4 separate regions of the Homo sapiens genome follow, and regions 2, 3 and 4 are each linked to region 1. Evidence: promoter capture Hi-C in 16 types of primary human blood cells and fetal thymus (Javierre and others, 2016). All regions are on one chromosome and are shown on one strand. Each heading gives the region's core, a stretch centred on a gene start or on the middle of the fragment in contact. The rest is flanking DNA. Distances are from core to core; before and after follow the strand shown.

Evidence for each region. Contacts are between HindIII fragments. The CHiCAGO score rates a contact against its expected background, and 5 or more counts as called.
Region 2: a contact is called between a fragment that was not itself captured here and the fragment with the promoter of ALKAL2 in region 1, in 1 of 17 cell types (megakaryocytes). The highest score is 10.1, in megakaryocytes.
Region 3: a contact is called between a fragment that was not itself captured here and the fragment with the promoter of ALKAL2 in region 1, in 1 of 17 cell types (naive B cells). The highest score is 5.7, in naive B cells.
Region 4: a contact is called between a fragment that was not itself captured here and the fragment with the promoter of ALKAL2 in region 1, in 1 of 17 cell types (total CD8 T cells). The highest score is 5.4, in total CD8 T cells.

The regions. Positions count from the first base shown.
Region 1 is chr2:286,169-289,858 of GRCh38, reverse strand. ALKAL2 (ALK and LTK ligand 2) reads left to right here and starts at 1,768. Exons shown (of 6, transcript NM_001002919.3): 1 at 1,768-1,846; 2 at 1,967-2,276; 3 at 3,516-3,569; 4 at 3,656-3,690. The coding sequence starts at 2,024. It overlaps LOC101927262 (a long non-coding RNA gene), which reads right to left. Exons shown (of 3, transcript XR_007085917.1): 1 at 3,235-3,690. RefSeq lists a silencer at 2,204-2,253. The HindIII fragment of the contact is 4,532 bases long and covers 1-2,566 here.
Region 2 is chr2:660,547-664,236 of GRCh38, reverse strand. It overlaps TMEM18 (transmembrane protein 18), which reads left to right. Exons shown (of 5, transcript NM_152834.4): 5 at 1-360. Among named protein-coding and RNA genes, the nearest start is that of TMEM18-DT, 15 kb to the left of the region's middle. RefSeq lists an enhancer at 3,053-3,628. The HindIII fragment of the contact is 8,201 bases long and covers 1-3,690 here.
Region 3 is chr2:578,638-582,327 of GRCh38, reverse strand. No RefSeq gene overlaps it. Among named protein-coding and RNA genes, the nearest start is that of LINC01875, 35 kb to the right of the region's middle. The HindIII fragment of the contact is 3,295 bases long and covers 395-3,689 here.
Region 4 is chr2:15,464-19,153 of GRCh38, reverse strand. No RefSeq gene overlaps it. Among named protein-coding and RNA genes, the nearest start is that of FAM110C, 29 kb to the left of the region's middle. The HindIII fragment of the contact is 2,083 bases long and covers 1,022-3,104 here.

The DNA.
Region 1 (3,690 bases), core at 519-3,018:
GCCAGCACCTTCCCGCCGCGGTCCTGCGACTGCCCCGATCATGGTGCAGGCCTTTAATTCTCGCCCACTCCGCCTCTCTGATTGCACTCAGAACACCTTTCCCAAACAGATCGCGGACTTGGAAGACGTCCAGCTCTTGCCCAGAAAGCACCAATCGAATGGGAAAGTGCGCAACTGATTGATAATACATTTTACAAGAATAAAATAAAAGAGGCAAATTGCTGAACTTTCACAGATGTGCCGGGCTTCGGCCAAAGAGCCAAACTTTCTTAAAGACGAGTCCGGGAGGCAAGTGCCCTCCTGCGGGCGTTCCCTGCCGGGGCGCGAGGGACCCGCGGGCCGAGGGTCCAGCGCAGAGGAGCGCGCAGATGGCGCGGTCCTTGCCGGGGAGGGACCTTCGCTCGTCCTCTCGCAGGGGGTCTGGGGAGGGGGTGCAGGTCCTGCCCCTCCTCGGGTGGTCAGCTGTGCGCACCTCGGGGGCCGTGGAGAGTCCTCACCCGCCCATCTCCTGCCTCCTGGCCGCCCCGCCTCGGGGACCAGGGCTTGGGGACCCGAACCTGGGGACTGGGCTCGGGCGGGGCAGACCCCTCGAGGTCCGGAGAGCGGATCCCTCCAAAACGGATGGACTCTAATTGACTTATTAAATGTCGAAGCAATCAGGCAGCTCCCTTTTTAATAGCCCAAGATCTACATTTAGACAAAAACAGAACCGAGTTCCTGGTAAAGGCGTTTCTTCTCATCCTGTCACAAGTGACAGGAACGGAGGGAAACAGACTGGGGGAGGGGCGGGGGGAGGAGAACAGGGGGAAGAGGAGGAGACGGGGAGTGGGGGAAGGTGGGGCAGGAGAGGAGGAGACGGGAGATGGGGAAGGTGGGGAGGGAAGGGGCGCGGGAGACGGGGCGCGGGCGAGGGGGAGACGCGGTGGAGATGCGGGTGGGGGGACCGGGCGGGGGCGGGGGCGGAGTTGAGGGGGAGCGGGAGACGGGGGGAGGCGAGAGCGAGGTGAGGCGGGGGGACTGACGAAGATCCGCATGGGGGTACTAACACTTCAGCGGCTTCTAATTAAAGCCCCGCTCGGAGCCCTTGGGGACCCGCCTGACGTCGGCGGGCGCGGGGATAAGAAGCTCCCCGAGGTCTGAGGCGGGACTCGGAGCCGGCGCACCCCAGGTCGGCCGTGGGTCCAGCGCTCGGAGCGGCCGAGTCCCCGCGTCCCGTGCGCTCCGCCCGCCGGGCATGGAGTAGTGGCGCAGCTCGGGGCGCGGGGACAGACGTGCGCACAGACGGCGACGACTCCGGCGGCTCCAGGTAACCGGCCCGGCCACGACGCGCAGGTGGCTCCCGGGTGGCGCCGGGCAGGTGCGGGAGGGCGCCATGGCCGGGAGGTGGAGGGGCTTCCAGCACGTGGCGCGGCCGGGGCCAGCGCGAGGGTCCGCACCCGGCCTCCTCCGTGGGCTTCGGGGACTCGGCGCTCGCCGGCGACCACCGCGCAAAGGCGACGCTGGAAACTTGAGCGCGGCCGCCGGGCCCGGCGCGCGGCGCCGCCTTCTTGGAGAGCGGTAGGCGCGGGAGCGCGGCCCCTCCGAGGTCCGCCCGCGGCCGGGGAGCTGCCTGGCACCCGCGGCTTCCAAAGGGGAAAGAAAGTTGCGCCCGCGCCAGGCGCAGCGCGCTCGGCGGACGCGGCCTTTCGGGCGAAAGTTAGGAGGGGCCGGGCTGGCGGGCGGGCGGGTTCCGGGGGCTCCTTTCCGCACCAGCGGCGGTCGCTCCCCGTGGGCGGGACCTCGGGCGTGATCGTCGAGGAGACCGCGGCTCCCTCACCTGCCGGCTTGTTCCTCGGGGTCCGCGGAGGTGAGGGGCCGGGTCCAGCGCCAGCGGCTCCTCCCGCCTCCCCTCCCCTCCCCCGCCCCGCGCTCCGTCCCCCTCCCCCGCTGACTTTCTCTCCGGCCCCCCGCGCCCCTTCTCTCGCAGCGAGCCCAGCTCTCGGCGCGTGTCGGAGTCTCCCAGCCCCGCGGCCCCGAGCGCACGATGCGCGGACCCGGGCACCCCCTCCTCCTGGGGCTGCTGCTGGTGCTGGGGGCGGCGGGGCGCGGCCGGGGGGGCGCGGAGCCCCGGGAGCCGGCGGACGGACAGGCGCTGCTGCGGCTGGTGGTGGAACTCGTCCAGGAGCTGCGGAAGCACCACTCGGCGGAGCACAAGGGCCTGCAGCTCCTCGGGCGGGACTGCGCCCTGGGCCGCGCGGAGGCGGCGGGGCTGGGGCCTTCGCCGGAGCAGCGAGTGGGTGAGTGGGGCCGAGCGCGCCCGAGGGCCGGGGCTGCTGGGAAATAGAATTGTCTTTGAGAAACACGTTTCAAAAAGAGACATCAATTTTGACCACTGAACAGCAGGATTCCTTTTTTTTTTTTTTTTTTTTTTAAGAAAAAGAAAATAGCAGCAATAGGTCCGCGCATGAGGCCTGGCGGAGAAGCGCCTGGTCTCCTTCTGGCGCGCGTGAGCTGCGGCGCGGGTCGGTGGTTTCCACACTAAACTGTCAACCGTCACTTTGGAAATGGAAGCATTTCCAGCAAAGCTTTCCCAACTGAAAAGGAAGCATCCAGGCTCCTTCATGGCCCTGCCCAGAGTGGTGGCCCACGGGGAATTTCCCAGGAAAGCATGAAAGCGTCTAATGCTTTTGTGACACAATCAGGTCAAACATGATAAGGTCAGTTTTATCCCGGCTGCGTCAAGTTAGGAGTGAATGAAGACTCACTAGGGGGTCAGCTGTGGATGCGAATGCTCCTCTTCAGAGGGCGTGACTTCACACACAGTCGGGGCTCAGCCAGGAGCCCTGAACGGGGGAGTGAAGATGGAGAGGGCTGTAAATACGCAAAAACAAAGCTGAACTCAAGAAGAACGCCCTTGCAGGGTTCTCCCCACCCACTGTGTGCGGAGAACCCTGGTGGAAGAAGTTTGCTTGGCAGAGTCTTTCCCTGGGATTCTTACCCTACAAACCAGGTTCATGCATATTCCCACTAATTTACACCTCACTGAAACGTGGTCTTTTAATCCTTACTCTAAATATGTATCTAGATAAAGTAATGTTCTGTAACCCATTTTTTTGTTTGAAGGGTCAGGTTTTCTCTAAAAACTTTGAAATGTTGTGGGATTTGATTCCCAAGGTCCTTAAAACTAAAGTGCCTAAAAGTGACTTATTCACTGGAAGTTAAATGTTTAAAAGAAAAAAAAAACAGTTTTCTTACCTCTGTAACTTCGTGGTCTCTGTCTGCATCCCACGGGGTAGACAGCCGACATAATCCTGGAGCTTCAGGAGCAGTTACTGTTATTTCAAGGAAAATAAATGTCCCTGATATTGAGTCTTCTTCACTGTCGTGTGTTGCAATCCAGGGCCCCAGTCTTTTTTATTTTGTGCAAAGCAACTTGGCTAATATGGAGCTCCAATTTTCTTCAACATTCACTTAAGATCACATTTTTAAAAAATGCGTCCTTCAGGTAATATAATACTTTCTTTTCCCTGAAACAGAAATTGTTCCTCGAGATCTGAGGATGAAGGACAAGTTTCTAAAACACCTTACAGGTAAGTTTTCTCCTCGTTCCTCACGTCTCCCAGAGCTCCTTTTCACCTGTGAGTCTTCATGATCTGTTTCTTCTTCCGTGTTCCAGGCCCTCTTTATTTTAGTCCAAAGTGCAGCAAACAC
Region 2 (3,690 bases), core at 601-3,100, 370 kb before region 1:
AAACCTCACAACAGTGAAGTTAGTTTAAACAAGTTACAACGACAAACACATTGTGCCATCCTTATGATTTCACCTGTTACTTAGTTCACACTGATGGGTGGCTGGTGTTTAAATGCTTTCCAAGTTCATTTCATTTATTATACAAATGCCTGTGAAATACCCAGGCAGCATCATTGCTTCCTTCTCTAGCCTCCAAACCGAATATCCTTTTGCTCAAGCATCCAGGTAAAAAAAGGGGGACCTTAGGAATTGTGAATTTGAAGCCAGAAGCCATGGTTTACCTAGGAATGGATTTACTTGCCAAGAACTGTGACACCTTTATAAATAAAGTTACTCATGTTGGCTTTTTTGCTCTTTAAATTCTTCTCTGTAAGTTACTGATGTGACAAATCAAATAATAAATTTCAGACAGCTTATATATTGACAATACAAGAAAGTCCATCCAAGAGTCTCTCAAAGCATACCTGGCACATATTAGAAGCATGTAAGTTCTGAAAAGTACTGAGTGGACATTTGTGGGGCCTTGACTTCCCTGCCACTGTCCTTTGTAACCGATGACCTCAGGTTGGGCTGGGATGGGTTTGTGTCTCCCACCAACCCTAGGCCGCACACGGGGCTCTTGGGTGAGTGAGAGGCTTCCCCGCTGCAATCACAGTCCTGAGCAGAACAACAGACCGGAAGCAGCGCGGAGCCTGGGAGTGGAGGTGCAGCCTGGGTGGATGCGGGTTTCCCGGCTGCTTCAAGGGCACACAGCGCTTTCTCATTTCTTACCCTCCCAAGTCTTCACCATTGTCCTGGCAGGTTTATGACCCCCATCCTACAGGGCGTCACCTTTATGTCGACAGCACATTGAAATACGTATGCAATTAGTGGATTTTCCAGGGTAACAGCTGCAAGCTGTTGTGGAATTCTGCACATTAATACGTGGTCATTGTAAAAATGTGTTCATGAGAACTCTTGAGAGGTACTGACATGTCTGACGATAGATTCCGAGTGAAAACACTTCCTGTGATGACCACAGAACATGATCAATTTTATAAGAGCCTTGGTTCTCACTGGACATGGTGATGATGGCCTCGAATTTCAGTTTCCCTTCAGGAAAGGTATATAGGCATACTCGACATAGTTATTTATAAGATCACTGTAAGGATCAAAAGATATGTGTTAGATTCCCTAAACTGCACGTCTGTTAACGGCTTTGGTGGGGCTGGCGATGCGGTGGTGCTGATCTGATCCCCAGAATGATGTGGAGCATACAGAATGCGTCCTGTGCTGCTCACTCCAGGACCAGAATAGAGAAAAGGAAATGTGACATGTAGCTGCTGCGTGAAAGAGATGCCCGGCCCGACGTGGGGCCAGAGTCGTGGATCCTGCACAGGTTGGTCTCCTGAGCTGTGAAAGGGGAACGTCAGGATCTGGGGCCGCATACCTCCTTGGCTCTGCAGAGCTTTTCCAGTTCGTTCCCCGTTCTGTCTGAGAAAGACATCTTTTCCACTAACCCTCCAGAGGGCACCACAGCACCATGCCAGAGGCCCCTGTTTGGCTGCTTGGGGAAAATTTCTGTCACTTATTCAGAAAGAGAAGTCTAATATTTTTGATTGAGGAACGTCACCCGGAGCTGAAGGGAATGAGCCGGGAAGCACAGGGCTTCGGTTTCCTGTGTTCATTTGAATGAGGTTAACCACATCCCAAATCAGTTGTAAAGTCAGTTTTTACTGTCCAGAAACAGACCTAAATACATACACAGGTGAACACACAGAGTCACATGTGCACACATGTGAACACAGAGACACGTGCACACGTGAACACACAGAGACATGCGCACATGTCACAACGCAACGTACACAGTGCAGGTTTACATATACACTCTCACTTGTGCATGTAAGCTCACACTCATGCACATACCCACACGATACATGCAGCAGTGTACTCTCACGTGTGCACACGTGCACACATGTAGGCGCCTGGAGACATCACTGATTTCATTTTTCCGTTACATTAGAAAACACCCATGCTGCACCTGCACCCACACAGATGATGATGTGAATGAATAAGTGCATTTACATGGTCTAGTTTCAGGAATGCTTTTTTTTTTTTTTTTTGAGACGGAGTCTCACTCTGTCGCCCTGGCTGGAGTGCAGTGGCATGATCTCGGCTCACTACAACCTCCACCTCCTGGGTTTCAGCGATTCTACTGCCTCAGCCTACCGGGTAACTGGGATTACAGGCACCTGCCATCACGCCCAGCTAATTTTTTAGTATTTTTAATAGAGTCTGGGTTTCACCATATGGGCCAGGCTGGTCTCGAACTCCTGACCTCAGGTGATCCACCCATCTCGGCCTCCCAAAGTGCTGGGATTACAAGCGTGAGCCCCCGTGCCCGGCCCACGAATGCTTTTTAAAGAAGACCTATCCAGTGAAGTAACATGATGAGAATGGAGGGACTGAGAGGCTGCTCTGTGGGGGCTGTGCTATGATAGGGATGAGCCTCACAAGATGCTGCAGGCCCGAGGAGCTCACCACTTCTGCCTGCTGGACACTGGGAGGCTCAGACACACGAAGAGAAAGGATGAAGGGCCCCACCCTGGCCCTTGACGCGCTGCTGGCCTCAGGAACTACTTTTAAGTAGAGAGTAGAAGTTGGAAGCTGAAGTGATACGCCCTCCTTCGCTTGACCTTATCTGTGGTCTCAGAAGACTCGGGCGGCTGGAAACGTCCACGGGAAATGGGGGCGAGGCTGCACTCTACACCCAAGGCCCACCTGCACCATCCAGGGCCCAGCCTCGGCAGCTCCGGGTGCACAGCAGGTAGCGAGAGCACTGCAGGTAGTGGGAGCACTGCAGGCAGCGAGTGCACAGCAGGGAGCGGGAGCACAGCAGGGAGCGGGAGCACTTCAGGGAGCGTGTGCACTGCAGGGAGCGGGAGCACTACAAGGAGCAGGTGCGCTGCAGGGAGCAGGAGCACTGAAAGGAGTGGGAGCACTTCAGGTAGGTGCACAGCAGGTAGCAGGAGCACAGCAGGGAGTGGGAGCACTGCAGGGAGTGGGTGAACTGTATGAGCAGGTGCACAGCAGGTAGCAGGAGCTCTGCAGGGAGGGGGAGCTCTGCAGGGAGCGGGAGCACTGCAGGGAGCAGGAGCACTGCAGAGAGCGGGTACACAGCAGGGAGCGGGTGCACAGCACGGAGTGGGTGCACTTCAGGGAGTGGGTACACAGCAGGGAGTGGGTACACAGCAGGGAGCGGGTGCACAGCAGGGAGTGGGAGCACTGCAGGGAGCAGGAGCAGTTCAGGGAGCCGGTGCACAGCAGCTCTGTCCTTAGATAGAAGCCCGACTGGGAGACCCGCTCCTCGTTCCCCTGCTCTCAACCGAGGCCCAGCCGACGTCCCTGCGGCTTCTGCCTTACATCCCGGCCCTGCTTCCCGCTCAGCGGCTTTCACCGCTGCCTGCCTCTCCCTGCGGCCTGGCTGAGGAGCAGGTGGGCTCCGCCTCCCATTAGCAGCATTGCCTCCGTCCAGCACAAAGACCAAGACTTGTCTCTGAAAAGCGTCTGCAGCACGCGTGGGAACCGCCGCTCAGCAGCTCTTCTTCTGGCACCCACAGGGCCTTCTGGGATTTACAATGTTTCAAATAAAGAGATAACATGAAAAATAAAATGCTGACCAGTAAATGACGCTATGAGGGCAACCACTGT
Region 3 (3,690 bases), core at 793-3,292, 290 kb before region 1:
GGTGGTCGAGGCAGCTTCCATCAGAACCCGGCTGCCTCCTCCGGCTCACAGCTCAGCGTTGTTGTTCTTTCTAATGAGCCTCAGCGTCTCTCTGCCCTAATTACATTTCACTGTTTGCTAGCATTAACTATTATTTATGTAAATGATTACCTTCTAATACTACTTGCAGTACAGAATTTATTTCAATTAAGGACAGAACTTTTCCTTTCTAAATGTCCCTGTTCTTCTTTCATTTCCAGATACAATGAGCCAATTTCTCGTCACAGCCCCAGGGCACCTTTATGTCATTTTCATCAATGTTTTCTAACTGTTCTCAAGGTTTTTCTGCTTATATAATGCAATTAAAATAGAGTTTTATTCTAATTAGAGAAACATCTGAATAGAAGGGGAAGCTTTAGGAGCTCTGGACAGGGAAGGGATCTGGAACCTTGTCTCAGACCACACTCCTGTTTGTCAGTGTGGAGGCCGAGGCTCACAGGAGTCATGCTGGCCCGGACTACACCCTCCACAGAGGGCTGCAGATGGACACAGAGGTCTCTCCACACAGACACAGGCACTCTGGTCAGATCTTGGGAATTTCTTGCCAAATCAATGGCCCGAGTCTGGCATCTTACGATGGAGGCCGGATGCCTCTGCACAACCGTCGGCTCACAATCCTTAAACTTCCCAACAATGTTTCATCAGCACCACACTCCCGGCTGTGTGCACCAGCTGAGATCCTGGCCCTTACCCACCCTCAGGGCTGGCTTAGCTGCCCTTTCCTCACTGACTGCCTTTGACTGTGTGTCTAGGCCCAGGAAACTTGCCTGACAAATTACAGAGCTCTCCAGAAATAAGCATTCACTTTTATTTTTCTTTAATAATGCTTTATGCTTATACCCATAAATGCAATCATATAAATATGTAAATTACCTTGTTAGGGGTGCATTCCTTATTTTTCTCTTATTTTTTTTCTCTTTTCCATTTTCAATAACCTTTTTTCTCCTTGCCGCCTCCTCTCCCACTCCCTCCTCCAGATAGAAACCTGGCATGTAGACTTCCACGTATTTTTCTCCATGGCCATATGATAATATGCAAACACAAGCATAAATATTTAAATTCACATTTACCTTAGCCATTATTAAAAATCCCATTAATACAAATGGGATTCTATTGTACGTCTCCCAAATCTGTTTTTTTTTTAACTCATCCACAACTTTGAAACCCAAGTCAACTGATATATTTTTAATTAGCTCTTAAAAGCTCATGATGTTAATGCTGCGTCTGCTTAACCCTCCACCGTGTTAAATACAATCATCTATTCAGCTATTCTTCTACTGATGGGCATTTGCCTGGTTTCCAGACTTCTGCAACTACGAACATAGTTTGCCATAACTTTCCTTGCACATTAATTCTTACTTGGGCTTTTATTCCACAGAACAGATGCTGGGGACTAAGCTGGCTCACAGAAAGGTTGATGCATTTTTAACTTGAATGCATGCTGTCAGATTTCTCTCCAAAGTGCTTTACCAAGCCCAGCAGCCACGGATGAGACCGTGCATCTCTCCCACACCCCCATGGGAAATAGGGACCTCTCTGTATCACCTTAGCCAGGCTCGTGCAGTGATGTTTTATTATCGAGTGGCCACCAGCCGTAATGTGAGACTTGCAATGTTCCTTAGAAATTGAGATTTGATCTAAGGATTACCCTTTCATCCTGTTACCCACTTCACTATTACTGCCTTTATTACTTTTCGACTTCTAAATTTCATTTTTTTAAATGGTCAGTGGATGTTCATGTTTTCTATTCAAGTGACATTCTATATATATAGTTACTGAATTTGTTTTACTGACTGCGTGTTCAGTTTTTCTGCATCACGATTTAGGTTTATGCACTGGAGCGTCCCCATTCTAAAAGTTGTGGTTAAAATTTTCCACTACTATTTTACTGGATTGGATGGGACTGAAATCCATTGGGCTTTTTATGTATTTTGTCCCGTTCTTATTACGTTTTCATTGTTGGTTTATACTCAGGTGCTAAGTTCTGTGCATATAAATTGGTGACTGTTAAACGTGCTTTCCACAGAGTGCCCCCAGGAGGCTTTGACCCACTGCCCCCACTCAGCGCCCTCACACGGAGACCTCCACCCTCTAGCTGGCTTGCTGCCACCTCTGCCCGGCCTTCTGCACATCCCTCTGTGACTCAGTCCTTCTTCACAATCAGGTTTGGTAAACCTATTTCATAAAGAGCCACATAGTAAATATTTTATGTTTCTTGGATACACAGGGCATCTGTTGCATATGCTTCTTTTTACTTTTATAATCTTATAAAAATGCAAAGAACACGTGTAGTTCACGGTCAGTTAAACATAAACAAAAAACAAACTGAAGTCATAGTTTGCCGAACCCTGACTTATAATTTTATTAATGAGTGTTTTTTTTTTTTTTTTGTAAATAGCACGTTGGGTTTGTTTTCATTTTATTCAATTAAACATTCTTTGTAAATAATTGAAAAAAAATCCCTCTGTTGAGCCTACAAGCATGATGATCGATGTATCAGTGACAGGAAGCAAAACCAGTTGCAACAAGAGAAGACCCTGAGAATTCGGCAGGAAACCTCAGAGCCGCAGCCGCCCTGTGTGCATCATGGGGTTGAAGACTTCCCACTGGCTGCTGCTGTCGGTCTCCAGGTTGCTGTGCACAGAGGGGATGAGACGGGAGACGCGGGTGCCAGGTGCAGCCCAGTCCTGCCCAGGCCAAGCTCCTTGTGAGCACAGGTGGAATGGCTGCCTTCCAGTGGACCACAGAGGCAGTTGGCAAGCTGGGAGCAGAGGCTCTGATTGGGCCTCAGGTTGCACCCTTGTTATTTGTTTGTTTGTTTTACTGACATCTTTGTATTTGTTATAGCTTGCCAAACTTTCAGAAGATAATGAGAGCTCTAAACACAGGGCTTGATGAACTATGACTCAGCACACAGCGTCCAGGTCAGCATACAGGACACCCCTGGCATTTCCGTGTCTCAATCTCCCTCCATCGCCATTCCCTCTTCGCCAACGCAGCATCATCCTAATTCCTAACAGGAGAATTCTGTTTTCTTATTTAAAAAAAAAATTCTAATTTTCAGGCCGGGTACGATGGCTCATGCCTATAATCCCAGCACTTTGGGAGGCTGAAGTGGGTGGATCACGAGGCCAGGAGTTCGAGACCAGCCTGACCAAAATGGTGAAACCCCGTCTCTATTAAAAATACAAAAAAAAAAAAAAAAGAAAAAAAGCCAGCCGTGGTGGCACATGCCTGTAATCCCAGCTACTCAGGAGGCTGAGGCAGGAGAATCACTTGAACCCGGGAGGCAGAGGTTGCAGTGAGCTGAGATCACACCACTGCACTTCAGCCTGGGCAGCAGAGCAAGACTCAGTCTCAAAAAAAAAAAAGAAAAAAATTCTAATTTCCAATATAAATTTTGACCAATTTTTTAAAATGTTCACTTGATGAGTAAAAATTGTATATATTCACGATATACAACATGCTGTTTGGATGAATATGCATTGTGGAATCAGCTTTGACTAATGTTGACATTTCAATGAAGAGACTCATATAATATATTTTTCTGTGTCTGGCTTCTTCTCAAATGTTATTTTATAAAATTTATCCTTTTTATTGTATGTAACATTTTGATAATTTTGTTGTTCTATGGTATTTTATTGTAAGCTT
Region 4 (3,690 bases), core at 814-3,313, 270 kb after region 1:
GATTACCACTCAGCAGCTGCCCCCATGCTGCAGGGGCCAGTGACTTGGGGCTCCCACCCGCCGTCCCGTTGGGGAACTGTGGAGATTCACCCCAGCTGGGTGGCCTCTGCTGTGTCCCCTATCAAGAAGCTCCTCGGCTTCCCTTGGTTTTTCCTTTTTAAAACTTTCTGGTGTTTTCCTTTCTAGTGGGTGCTGCATCTTTCCTTAGAAGACAACATTTTCCAATTAGGGTCTGTCTTGGTACCTGGTCCAGAGGAAGGTCTCCTCTCTCAGGAGTGAGACCCAGCCAAATACACACGGGTGTCTCTGCCCTCTAGTGGATCCTGGCAGGCACTGGGAGCAAATGTGACTATAAACAAAATTAAAGATTTTAAAAATACCCATTATCTTCAGAGGGGATTTAATTCTAACAGGAGGCTTTTTGTGTTTCTTTTTTAAATGGGCTGATGGGTAAAAATAATACAAGACTGGAGATGTTGGAAAAGAGCACACTGCCTTTTCGCATCTGTGATGACTGAGCCCTTCCTCAGCACTGCCACAGGGAGCACATTCACACATTCACACGTGTGCCACACAAATACCAGGGTTAGGTCAAAAAACCAAGTGTTACCTGGAGGAAGCCACAAAGGCTATGAGACCAAGCCTTCACCTGGAAGACACCTGAAAGTTCAGAAGCCGACATCCTGCAAGGTATCTTGGGGAATTCAGCTGTGACCCCGCACTGTATGGAAGGGTGGGCAGTGCAGCCAAGGCAGGTGAAAAGGATTGTCCACTGTTGAGCATCATCAGCCTAAAACCCACATGCAATGCTATTGCTGCAAAACCACTGACTGTTGCAGCCAGAAACCACCGAAACAGACTCCCTTTATGGTCCTCACTGTGCAACTGGTAACTTTTCAGAAGATGAAGACTAAATATATTAATCATAAATTCAAAGTATCAGAAGAAATACTAGGAGATTTTCTAACCTCTGCTACCATGACTTTTTTTTGCAAGATTCATGAATTATTGTAAATAAGCTTACAGAGGCCAAAGTGCTCCCCTGAAGTCATCCAGAAAGAGGCAGGCTGCTAATCCCCACATCTGAGACATCTGTGTTTTCTTAGAATAATAGAAAAATTAAAGATAAGGGAGAGAGAGAGGGACAGGAAGAGACAGAGAGACAGAGAGAATTGGAGCTAAGAGAAAACACTTTCACGTTTTGCCCCCCAAAATTCCCAGTGAACATTCCCATTGCCAGCGGGTGAAATCCAAGGCCCTGGCTCCAGGATCCTGCTCTTTCCTTTGGTGATTCCTATTCAAGTTTGGCATAGAAAGAATATGGAACTTGTCACACTTCTCTGGACAAGTCATTTTGCTTTTGACTCACAGGCTCCACTTTCCTAGACACCCCTTCGCCCAAAGGTTCAAGTAATTCAGCTTCACCCTTCAGAGAAGAGCTCAGGTGTCACTTCCTCTAAGGACCCTCCCCAGCCACCTCTCCAGCAGAAGGGCCCCCAACTTGCTCTTTGCACCTCTGTCCCTCAAAGTGCTGCCATCCTCTGTGGAGGGTGGGACCCCGGGAACTAGAGCCCCTCTCATGCTGGAGACACTCGGCACTCAGTAAGTGTGTGCTGAGTGGATACAAGTGCAGCGAGCTTGCACAGCCTTACAATGTGTACTCTCACGTCTGGCATAGAGCCCCATTTTCATTCTTTGTAAAATGAGTAAGTGGGGCTGGGTGACCCATACTCTCCTTTCAATTCAGAAGTCCACATTGAGCCTGACATCAAATAGCTTCCCAGCCAGCGCCAGGCCAAGATCCAGGCTGTTCAATGTGCCTGTGTGGGACCAGCTCTGCTGCCTGCTGCCCAGTGCCAGCCAGCAACCCCAGGCGCACAAAGGAGCACCTGCAGGCACCTGCAGGAGATCTTTGTTATTTAGTAGCTGTGACTGGGCTGGGAGGGAGTGTGTTCATTTCTAATTTTCCGGTGACTAGCATGAGACAGTTTGAAATGTGGTGATTTTTTTTCTCTTGGCCCCCCCAAAAAAAGGCCTTTTTACCTTCTGATCCTTGGCGCCACTGACATTAGCTATGGTCCTGATAGTTTAAGAAAACTTTATTCTCCAAAGGAACATTTTGGTAAATAGTGTAATTCTTTATTACAGCAAAACCATTGCTTAGGTGGGCAAAACTCGGGAGGATAGAAAAACACACTCTTGAAAACAGGTGGTGACGCCCTAAAATTCAGCAAACTGCAGGGAGACGTGTTGTTCTACCCCAGGTCAGAGTGTGTCAGTCATCACTCGATGCCACTCACAGACCACCAACTTCAGAATACCTAGGTGTAAAGGTCTGTACAAAAGTCATAACATAATAATCTAAATAATTTTACATTATTAATAATTATATTACACTATTATATAATGTAAATGCTATTAAAACATGTTTGTCTTCAAAGAATGGCCTTGGTTTCTGTGGGCAGCATCTCTTGATGGAAAGGTAATGCATTCCTGCTAAATCATGGACAAAACGGGCCTCCAGGAGCTCCAGGCTGCAGCAGCAGCTTCTCATCTACATCCTTCACTGCATGATGTTGTTGTTGACTTTGAAAGCTCCTTTCAGTCTAGTTTTATCAACAGAGCTAGTATTTCATGAGGAACTACTACATATCAGGTTCCAGAAAACTAAATGCCTTTTGTTTGTTATTATTCACTAAATACAAACAACAACTCTCTTCTCATTACTCACACACATAATTTAGCTGAGGGCGATTGAGTGACTTTCCCAGGGTCACACAGCTACTAAGAGTCGAGTCGTGTTTAGATTCATGTGGGAATACTGAACACAGAAATGAACCAGTGGAAATATCCTATGTTCCAAAAGCTGACTCAAGCCATTTGTTCTTATTTTAAGGAAAATCTTTATGCTAATGTTAAACTCCAAATACTTATGAATGGCAGAGATCTACAGATTTCATTCTAATGTAGGAGATGATGCTCACCAGCTGGTTACTGCTACCACCCCACAACCCTGAGCATACTGGACAAATGTCTAAGCCTCGTGGTTAGTGCGGACAATGCTGTTGGAGTCTGAAGTTGTCATGCAGTGACTCACTCAAGCTTAGGCAGATTTGGTGATATATGACACAGAGATGCAAAGAAATGCTGTAGCTGACACACACAGGCTGGCTCTGGGAGATGCAGAAGGAGCATGTCACCCAAAATAGAGCCAGATAGACATCCTTAAGGAAGGAGCAAAGGGGCTGCAACATAAAGAATGAAGAAAGGATTTATCATGAGAGATGGGGCAGGTAGTTCTCCAGAGGCAGAGGGAGAGCATGAGAATGTGGGGAAGGGAGGAGAGATTCTCGCACATCTGGGAAGCTGACAATCCATCAGCACGGCCAGAAGGAAAATAAGAAGGAGAGGAAATAATAGATGAGGCTGGATATAGAAGCAGGGTTCAAGTTGTGTCTATTGTGGTATATAGTTGTGATTCTACCCAGAAGGCAACAGGTAGCATTCTAAACAAAGATCTTTTAAAACAAGAGTTAGCAAGTATTTTCTGCAAAGGGCAAAATGTTAAATATTTTAAGTTTTCCAAGCCATGTGGTCTCTGTCTCAATGACTCAGCTCTTCCATTGTACTATGAAAGTAGCCAGAGATGTTATATAACACATCTATGTGGCTTTGTCCCAATACAACTTT